Linked DNA regions of Homo sapiens: region 1 is linked to region 2. Evidence: promoter capture Hi-C in 16 types of primary human blood cells and fetal thymus (Javierre and others, 2016). All regions are on one chromosome and are shown on one strand. Each heading gives the region's core, a stretch centred on a gene start or on the middle of the fragment in contact. The rest is flanking DNA. Distances are from core to core; before and after follow the strand shown. Region 1 holds the start of CYP11A1 (cytochrome P450 family 11 subfamily A member 1). Region 2 holds the start of FAM219B (family with sequence similarity 219 member B).

Region 1 (5,312 bases), core at 164-2,663, 540 kb after region 2:
ATCTATGGGCTGACACATACAACAGAAGAGGCCAGGAGGATGTCACTCGTGTGTGTGTGTGTGTGTGTGTGTTTGGTAACAGCTCTATTGAGATATAATTCACACACCATACAATTCACCCATTTAAAGTATGCAATTCAATGGCTTTTAGTGTATCAGAGAGTTGTTCAATAATTACCACAATATACTTTAGAATATTTTCATTTTCATCATCCTAAGAATCCCTACACACTTTATGTCCCATCCTCTAATTCCTCTATCCCCCTAGCTCTAAGCAACCACCAGTCTATTTTCTGTCTCTTAGATGTGTGTTTTAAATGCCTTATTTGCCAGAAAATAAGATTTTGGGGAAAAAAAGCAAGAAGTTGTACCTTCCAATGATAAGTATAAGGTATAGTGTAGATTGCTGTCATGAAATGCTCTACATGGCACATGTATGTTTTCTGACCTACACATTTTTACCAAGTGGGCTGTAATTTTGTTGAAATGACTTGAAAACTCTACAGGTGACTGACCCTTGTTGTTTGGGAAAGTGGTAGGTGCAGGGTGATGGGGGGTGGGTGTGGGGGCTGACCTGGGCTGGAAGGATGGGTCTGGGGATATGATATGATGGGAGGGGGTATGGAAGCAGCTCTGAGGGGAAAGCAGCACAGATCAAGTGTGTGGACAGGGAAGAGCTGACATCCTGAGTTCCATGGCAACCAGATTTGCCAAGGTCTTAGAGTGTGTCCAGAGTGGAGCCTGACCACAGACCTCAGCTCAAGGGACCCAGAGCCCCTCTGAGTCAGCTGTACTGAATTACAGCCCCAAATCTGGGTCAACTGGGGAGAGACGACGAGGATTAGGGTTCCAAGGTGAAACTGTGCCATTGCGCTCCAGCCTGGGCAACAAGAATGAAACTCTCTTAAAATAAAATAAAATAAAATAAAATAAAATAAAATAAAATAGCCTAAGGATGCATTTCTCAGAACTTATCCCTGTTGTTCAATGATGTGTGTCTATACAGTGGGGCCATAACTAAGACGTATGTTGCCCAAGCTGGCAAGATAGCTCTGACCTTCTCTTGGGCCCCTCATTTCCCCCAAACACAGGTTGTCTGCAGTCTTGACCAATGGCTGCCAGGGCATGGACTCCGCTGCAGGGGCCAGTGGGAGGCCCCAGCTCAGGCAAAAGCACAGGCAGATATTTCAGGAGTCTGCTAGGGCTGGCACTGAGGGCAGAGACAGAGGGGTCTCCCTGTCCTTTGGAGAACCTCACGCTGCAGAAATTCCAGACTGAACCTTCATACCGAGTAGGGGAGGAGCTGTCTGCGGGTTTGAGCCTGCAGCAGGAGGAAGGACGTGAACATTTTATCAGCTTCTGGTATGGCCTTGAGCTGGTAGTTATAATCTTGGCCCTGGTGGCCCAGGGCTACAGTCATCCTAGCAGTCCCCGCTGAAGTGGAGCAGGTACAGTCACAGCTGTGGGGACAGCATGCTGGCCAAGGGTCTTCCCCCACGCTCAGTCCTGGTCAAAGGCTGCCAGACCTTTCTGAGTGCCCCCAGGGAGGGGCTGGGGCGTCTCAGGGTGCCCACTGGCGAGGGAGCTGGCATCTCCACCCGCAGTCCTCGCCCCTTCAATGAGATCCCCTCTCCTGGTGACAATGGCTGGCTAAACCTGTACCATTTCTGGAGGGAGACGGGCACACACAAAGTCCACCTTCACCATGTCCAGAATTTCCAGAAGTATGGCCCGATTTACAGGTAAGCCTGGCAGAGGGTGGGAGCCGAAGGGACAGGGAGGAGGAGGGGCCTGGGTAGCCCTGCTGTAGTCCCCACTCCCCCAACAGGCTGTTCTCTGGTTCCAAACTCCTGTCTAACTTCTTTTTTTTTTTTTTTTTTGGTAATACAATACAGAAATATATCAGGGATATTTCAAAATTCAACATTTGAATCTGTGAATGTCTTAAGTACTCTAAACCAGACATCTACTTTTGAAACAATTGGTGGCAAGACCGCCAGCCATCTGTAAGGAAGCTCTTTAATGGGTCCAAACCCCAGGTCTGGCCAGGCATGGTGGCTCACACCCATAATCCCAGCACTTTGGGAGGCCGAGGTGGGCGGATCACTTGAGATCAAGAGTTCGAGACCATCCTGGCCAACATGATGAAACCCCGTCTCTACTAAAAATACAAAAATTAGCTGGGTGTGGTGGCAGGCGCCTGTAATCCCAGCTACTCGGGAGGCTGAAGCAGGAGAATGGCTTGAACCGGAGAGGCAGAGGTTGCAGTGAGCCGAGATCGCACCATTGCAATCCAGCCTGGGCGACAGAGTGAGATTCTGTCTCAAACAAAACAAAACAACCTCCTCGGTCTGAGGAGGGGAGACTGGTGAGGCTAAGTTTTGAATTCCTGGCCCTGTAGCTGTCAGCCCAGCCAGCGAGTTTTAAAAATTGGGAGAAGGCCGGGTGCGGTGGCTCACGCTTGTAATCCCAGCACTTTGGGAGGCTGAGGCAGGCGGATCACTTGAGGACAGGAGTTCGAGATCAACCCGGCCAACATGGTGAAACCCTGTCTCTACTACAAAAATAAATAAATAAATAAATAAATAAATAAATAAAATAAAAAAAATTAGCCGGGCATGGTGGCGGGGGTCTATAATCCCAGCTACTCGGGAGGCTGAGGCAGGACACTCGCCCGAACCCAGGAGGTGGAGGTTGCAGTGAGCCGAGATCATGTCACTGCACTCCCGCCCTGGGCAACAAAAGCGAAACTCTGTCTCAAAAAAAAAAAAAAAAAAAAAATCGGGGGAGGGAGATTTGAAGGTCAGAGCACAGAGTGAAAAGGTCGCAGCGTGGTCAAGTTTGGCGCTAGCGACAGACCCAGCATTCCTCCCAGCGCACGCCGCCGCCCGGGCCGCGCTATTCCGAAATTGGGTCCGCCCTAGCGTGGCCCCCGGCCTGCTCCTGCGCTCTTCGCGGGTCGCTCACCTCCGCCTCCCCTCGACACAGCCCGAGCCCATCCGCCCCCCGGGTCGACCCGCGTTTACCTCAGGGCGAGGTCCAGGCGCTCGGCCCCGCGGAGGCGGCGGCGGCCCCACCGCAGGTCCTAGGTCCCAGTCACTCTGCCGCCAAGTTCCCCAACACGGACTCCGTGCGCTTTGAGGTGTTACGGGGGCGCTGGAGCACTGGCTTCGCTGGCCCTGCCAGGAGGCGGCGGCGAAGCAGGGAGCGACCCGGTATGCGTTTCTCTGCCCGGCCTGCGGCCCTGCAGCATCCACTCCTCGCCTCTGCTGGCCTCTGCCCTCGCTCGCTGCGTTCACCCGAGCTCACCCGAGCCCACCGGAGCCGACAGTGGCGCGCTAAGGTGACGTCCGCGCGGCCGGACCTCTCCTGTCCAACTTCTGATCTTCTTCCAGGCCTGGGATGGTGGTGGGTAAAAGGGAAAGTATTCCTAGTTCCCAGGCCTGAGGCCTCAACCTTCCCCAGATCCCACTCCCTTTGAAACTCTCGGAGAGAGGTGGTTAGAGAACAAGCCCTACTAAATGCCTCCCTACATCCGTTACCCTCCGCACACCTTGCAAGCGAAGTTTGTTGTCCCCATGGTCAGAGGAGGAGACTGAGGCTCAGAGAGGTCACCCAGCTAGATTCCTGTCCTGCTGGGGTGCTGGATCTCACCCCTTGGCCCTGAGGCTCTGAGTCTGTCCCTTCCCTTTCCCAAGAATCGGGCTTGCTTCCTGCTAGGAGGAAAGGCCTTTTTTTTTTTTTTTTGTCTTTGGGCCTCTGTGCCTCCAGGGCTTGTGGCTTTTTCCTGGGAAAACTGCTAAAGCTGTTCCCACGGTGGGCAGCCTTTCAGCCACACCTGGGTTCTTTGCTAAGAGTCCGGTTGAGAGGGAACGGAGGTGGCGCAGGGGTGGTTGGGGGCTGGGAGGGGAGACCAGGAGGGACAGTACGTTTTCCTTTAAGTGAAAGGTCTTTACAACTCAGAGCATTCCAATGGGTCAGTCACGAAGAGGGAAGGGTAAGATGTGTTGGCCGGCTTGATGACTGGGCTGGGGGTGGGTGAGAAGGCAGGCTAGTTTGTGTTGGGGCTTCAGCTGCTCCCTCCCTCTCTCACAACTCCTTTAAAGTCCAAACTGCCCCTTTTGATAGCTGGTTGGTGGCAGGGAGCTCCCCCCACCCCGCACCCCACCCTATTCAAGGTTGAGTGCTGGGCTTGGGAGGTTGCGCCCCGCTGGGTCTCTCCTTCCTCCCCCTCTCTCCTAGGCCTATTAGTGCTTCTGTCCCGTGCTCACTTCACATAGATCTCTAGTTATCCTTGCTTCCTCCTCTCTTCCCTTTTCACCACTTCCTAGACCCTCAGTAGCAACTCCTTATTTTATTAAGCCCCTTTGTTACCGGTGGAGGGTGTCCAGGTTCTTGGCGTCTTGAACAAAGAATTGGACAAAATGCACAGACAAAGTAAGGAAGGAATGAAGGGATTTATTGAAAATGAACATACACACCACAGTGTGGGAGCAGGCGGAGCGTAGGGGCTCAAAGGTCCCGTTACAGAATTGTGGGGCATTTACCCCCAGAGGATTCCATTGGTTACTTCAGATACACCTTATGTAAATGGAGAGGATGAAGTATTCAAGTTACATAGTCATACACCCTATGGAGAGGATATTTCCTGTTATAGCTGAAGTGTGAATCGATCTTCACACTTCAGACCCTATTTTCCTGCCTCATCTGCCCCTTCAAGAGATGTGATCCCCATAAATCTTTATGGGAGGCAGAGGGACCGATGGTCTTTTTTCTGTAACTGCTTCATGCTGGCTTGGGGCATAGTCCCTACCTATTGGGGATCATGGAACTCTCACCCTGCTCTATCTAGTGGAGGAAGGGTAGCTTCTTGATGTCCAGGGGTGGTGTCTTCACTTGGAACTGGCTGGAACCTTTGTTACATGATCATCTGAAGCTTGATGGTCTCTAGGTGAGAGGAAATGAATTTGGTTAAAAGATTTAATGGAAACTTTAGGGGGTGGATACCTATACTGTCAGAAATGTTTGTTGTAGTGATTTGCAGAAGAAAAAACAAAACCTAGTCTTTTCTAGAATCTATGTGTTTCCTTAAAGTCTTGGCATGAGTGGCCCCATTTTGGTTTTGTTTGGTTTGTTGGGGCCTAGTGCATGAGATCAGTCCAAAACAACGGCCTCCCAGAATTTTGTTGAAAAAAATTCCCTTTTTGATCAGGTTTTCACTTAGGTGAGAGTGTGACCAAAACCTAGGGCCTCAGTGCCACTCTCAGTTACCATCATTTTGGGTTTCTGGTCTCAGCATGTCATTTATAGGT
Region 2 (5,071 bases), core at 13-2,512:
TGGCCAAGCTGGTCTTGAACTCCCTACCTCGGGTGATCCGCCTGCCTCAGCCTCCCAAAGTGCTGGGATTACAGATGTGAGCCACTGTGCCCGGCCAGAAAACTACTTCTTTGGAGTCCACAGGCAACTGGGTACAAATTCCAGGTTTATCACTTAACTGGTAAACTTGACCAAGTCTAAGCTTCATTTGTTTAACAAGAATAACTATTGGCTTCATTGGGAGGTTATAACCATTAAATACTAAGTTGAGCTATATGAACCTGCTGTTTCTGGAGGCAAAAACAGTCTAACATCATGGGGAGTGGGGGGAATCTACCAAAATGGTAAGGATTCCTTTGTGCTTTTGATTTTTGAAAACTTCAGCCCTAAATTCTTCCTTTTCACCTCTCTTGCCCAAGGCATAGTGCCACCCAACGGTCTGCGTGGCCCTGGGAGCTCGGAGGTTGCACACTGTTGACCTACCCTATTGAAGCCAGTAAGTTAGTCAAGGGACAGCCTCATGAGATTTGGGAGTTCTACAAGGATCTGGAGTTTCTTTCCAGCCAGTCACAAGCACATCCCTTGGGGGCTAGAGAAGTCAAGAGCCCTGACACATAGCCTACCACACACAGACTCAGAGTGCACTTTCACCCTCCTTTTCAACGCCTATTTGCCTCACTGTACAATGAGTAGTGACATTGGCTCTATTTTTAAATGTGGAAACTGAGGCCTAGAGAGGGTCAGGTCCTGTCCAATGTCACAGGCACCAATTGGTGTTGGAAAGAAGGTGGGGTTTGGCGTCAGATGGATCAGCGCAAGCACTGCCTCTAGATGTGTCACCTTCACAAGGTTCTTTAACTTCTGGGGCCTGTTTCTTTTGCTAGAAAAGGTCGCTGATAACGCTTGTCCTCATATGACTCTTCAACCCAAGTCTGCTCTCTGGCAGCCCCACATGTGGGGAGACCCCCAAGGAGACACTGCGAGAAGCACAGAGTGCGGCGCGCCAGGACTCAAACCGTGGGCACCCGACCGACGCACACGCGCAGCCCCACGACAGTATCAGTATTTAATTTCCACTAGAGACAGAACTAAGCCTAACCATCACCAGGCTCAAGCCGCCTACCCCAAAACCGAGAACGGAACTGCCCGGTCCCCCCGAAAAGAAGGGCGGAACATTTCGGCCAAGTCCTCAGACTACCGAACCGGAGAGCTCCGAAAGGGGACTACCTGCGCCTGCGCACCGCCATCTTGTTAAAAGAGCCCGCCTCTCCCTCGGCCGGTCACTCTTTCGCCACGGGCGGGGTTGCACCATCCGGCAGGGCGGGGCCCGGCCATGGCGACCGCGGAGCCCAGCGGGCGCGCGTTGCGGTTGTCTACCCCGGGACCCCGGCCCAGCGGGGCTCGGGACCGCGCGCCGGGAGCTGCGGGGCCACCCTCCGGGCAGATCGGTAATAGAGCCCTCCGTCTGGGGGAGCGCACCCCCGCGGCCGTGGAAAAGCGGGGGCCATACATGGTGACGCGCGCACCCTCCATTCAAGCCAAGCTGCGTGAGTGTGGCCCGATGGTCGGGGGAGGTTTCTCCCTGGGCGGGCGGCCGCGTCCCCAGGGCGGGTTCCGGAGCTCCGCTGGGCCTCGGCCCCGGAGGGAAGGGGTTAGCTGCAGCCTGCTCTCGCCCCTCAAAATCCGTTCGGAAAGAGCGGCCTCCCAGCCTTCGGGAGACGCGGCGGAGTGGGGAAGACCCGGCTGACCCGGGTCCTTTAACTTCCAGAGAAGCACCGGGACCTGGCCAAGGCCGTTCTGCGGAGAAAAGGCATGCTGGGGGCCTCGCCGAACCGCCCAGACTCTTCAGGGAAAAGGTCTCAGCAGGCGCCACCTCCTCTGTGCCAGCAGCTTTAGAGAAGGCTTTAATCCCCAGGACGGAGGCAGGGTGCTCTGGTTTAAGGCCGAGCTAGCGATTCCCCTGATGCAACCTGTCAGGTTCACTATCTTTAAAATGGGAAGAGGAACAATCTCTCTTTTCCTTTAAGGATGTGATAGGATCAGATAAAGGGCTTCGGAATAAGGGAGTTCTGTGAGTGCACAGGCTCATTCACTATCATTCTCCTCCTCTGTTAGGGAGGAGAATGGTGGCTGGAGTCCCCAGCAATGAGGACGAAGAGCAGTGTGGGAATGGCTAGACCTGTTTTTGTTTGTTTGTTTTTAACAGAATAGTAAACTCGGAGCTGCATAGAACCTTATTCAGTGCCTCCTTTTACAGATGAGGGTTGAAACTCGGAGAAGTGAAGGTTAACCCTAACCTTTTACCCAAAGACTTGCAGTTTTTGTGTCCTCTGATTAAATAAGTGGGGAGAGGGTGCTTTTCCTAGATCAGGCAAGGGGAGGTGTGCTTTTTTCCAAGACCTATGGGAGGAGTAGAATACAGGCCGGGCGTGGTGGCTCACGACTGTAATTCCAGCACTTTGGGAAGCCGAGGCGGGTGGATCACTTGAAGTCAGGAGTTCGAGACCAGCCTGGCCAACATGGTGAAAGCCCGTCTCTATTAAAAATACAAAATTAGCTGGGCACGCCTGTAGTCCCAGCTACTCAAGAGGCTGAGGCAGGAAAATCACTTGAGCATGGTAGGCGGAGATTGCAGTGAGCCGAGATCGCGCCACTGCACTGCAGCCTGGGTGACAGGGCCAGACTCTGTCTCCAAAAAAAGAAAAAAAGAATGAGAACATACACATTCTGAGGCACTGTAGCCAGGTACATGGAGCTGCAGGCAGTGGTGGCTGTGACCAGGGAGAAGGCAAGTCAGTAGTGCAGTCAATTCTTTCTCCTTCAGGGCGAGGACTCTGCCTATCCCTGTGAAATGCCTATGCTTTCATCTATGTTTGGTCTCTTCTCCCCCGTCTCCCCTCAGGTCAGTGAAGTTTAACAAGGGCTATACTGCTCTTAGCCAGAGTCCAGATGAAAACCTGGTGTCCCTCGACTCTGACAGGTGAGTGCTCCCCTTGGAAATACCCCCTTGGGAAGCAACTTGGCTGGGACTGAAGATCGCCTGATGCCTTTGCTTGTTCCCTGTCTCCTCCAAGGCCCTTCATGTACATTCCAGGGCCGTTCTCTTCTGAACAATATCCCTTCCCAGGATGGCTTGGTTAGAAGACTCATAGGTAATCGTGCTGCTCTAGAATTCGGAGCACCAATGTCCGGGGGATCATCCTGCCCTGTTATGTTTGCATTGTTAGTGAGAGTGACCCTGTCCCTGCCAGAACCAATTGAGGGAACCAGTATTATTCAAGGCCTGTTCGGACTTGAGTTCTGTTGTGTGTGGCCTTTGCTTCAAAAGTCTTCCAGATGCCCTTGCATGCTCTCCGCCTGATGATTTACAGCTGTGCACCACAGGTACCTCCCGGAACTGACTGTTTTCCTCTTCTCCTAGTGATGGGGAGCTGGGATCCAGATACTCCTCCGGGTATTCATCTGCAGAGGCAAGTCCAGAACACCTTTCTGTGCAGGGCCAGGCTGCAGGCAGCATTACCACCACTGCCAAATGCTTGTTTGGTGCCCGCTGTGAGCACAGCACTGTGCCAGACTTCTGGTCTGTTCTACGATCTTCCACTCTGCCCTCTTCCCCCGGTGGAGGTATAGGTGACCAAGGAGGGCTGTTGAGAATCGAGGAGACCATTTAGACTCAGGGCTAGAAATGATCTCAGAAGTCATGTAAGCTGGGCATGGTGGTACATGCCTGTAGTCCCAGCTACTAGGGAGGCTGAGGCAGGAGGATTGCTTGAGCCCAGGAGTTCCAAGACCAGCCTGGACAATATAGCAAGACCCTGTCTCTAAAATAAGACTCTAAAATAAAAGTCTTCTAGGCCACAGCTTACAAAAGGAACCCTTTTGATAGATCCCAGCTAAGTGTTTGCTAGTCTGTGCTTACTTGAATGCTTTTTGTAATTGGGTACTGACCACCTCCAAGGAGCCTTGCTACCCACCCTTCCCTCAACACACACAGAATTTTTTCTTTGAGTAGCTGTTAGAGAAATCTTCCTTATTAATCTGAATGGGTCCATTGGTCCTTGACCTGCTTTCCAGTGTCACACAGCAACTCTAGTTTCTCTGAGATCAGCATTTCCGTCTCTCCCCTGCCCATCTTTCACCAAGCTTGCTTTCTTCCAGACCAAACAACTTCTGTTTCTTCAGTTGTTCCATCTATGAAAACTCAGGCTAAAACACTCCTGGGATAGCCATGTAGACATTTTTCTAGAGTGACTGTCCCAGATAGAAAAACAGGGATGTAAAATCCTGGCAAGTGAAGCCCATTCCCTTTGACAGAGGTGAAGTGCTGGGGACCTGACTCTACACCACTTGCTTTTCTTACTCTCCTGGAAATCTTGGCTAATCTCTGAGTTTCTGTCACAGAGAATAGAGCAGTTTGCAAATTTTGTCCTCCTTAAATGTCTGAGTGTCAAAGATTGTGTGTAAGAGGAAGTCTTACACTTTCCCCAGCCTCATTTATTTTTCTTTTTCTTTTTTTTTTTTTTTTTTTTTTTTGAGACAGAGTCTCACTCTGTGGCCCAGGCTGGAGTGCAGTGGCATGATCTCAGCTCACTGGAAGCTCCGCCTCCCAGGTTCACGCCATTCTCCTGCCTCAGCCTCCCGAGTAGCTGGGACTACAGGCGCCCGCCGTCACGCCTGGCTAATTTTTTCTATTTTTTAGTAGAGATGGGGTTTCACCATGTTAGCCAGGATGGTCTCGATCTCCTGACCTCGTGATCCACCTGCCTCGGCCTCCCAAAATGCTGAGATTACAGGCGTGAGCCACCACGCCCAGCCTTATTTTTCTTATGTTCAGTGAACTGATGAAACCAACCAACAAATTCCACTTTGCAGGAACCCACCTCTGTTGGCATCAAAGGATAAGTCTAACCAGCAGTGTGTAGACAAAGCTGCTCACCACCCCCTTCCACTGTAACCCATGCTCTACTACGCTAGCCCATTGTTCTGTTATTATCCCATATTCTTCAGCTTTGATAGGGACTAGTCTGGGCTCCCAGTGGGAACTGTCAGAGCACTGATTTTCAAACATATTGGGAACTCGATATTTACATGA

Evidence for each region. Contacts are between HindIII fragments. The CHiCAGO score rates a contact against its expected background, and 5 or more counts as called.
Region 1: a contact is called between the fragment with the promoter of CYP11A1 here and the fragment with the promoter of FAM219B in region 2, in 1 of 17 cell types (M2 macrophages). The highest score is 5.5, in M2 macrophages.

What each region holds. Positions count from the first base shown.
Region 1 is chr15:74,363,747-74,369,058 of GRCh38, reverse strand. It overlaps CYP11A1 (cytochrome P450 family 11 subfamily A member 1), which reads left to right and starts at 1,413. Exons shown (of 9, transcript NM_000781.3): 1 at 1,413-1,742. The coding sequence starts at 1,474. LOC124903524 (a long non-coding RNA gene) reads right to left here and starts at 3,597. Exons shown (of 2, transcript XR_007064709.1): 1 at 3,554-3,597; 2 at 1-3,397. RefSeq lists an enhancer at 1,257-1,281, a promoter at 1-1,463 and a silencer at 2,871-3,030. The HindIII fragment of the contact is 5,873 bases long and covers 1-4,938 here.
Region 2 is chr15:74,903,042-74,908,112 of GRCh38, reverse strand. FAM219B (family with sequence similarity 219 member B) reads left to right here and starts at 1,262. Exons shown (of 5, transcript NM_020447.5): 1 at 1,262-1,526; 2 at 1,748-1,835; 3 at 2,882-2,959; 4 at 3,401-3,449. The coding sequence starts at 1,313. RefSeq lists enhancers at 920-1,199, 1,041-1,845, 1,846-2,652 and a silencer at 1,260-1,559. The HindIII fragment of the contact is 3,941 bases long and covers 184-4,124 here.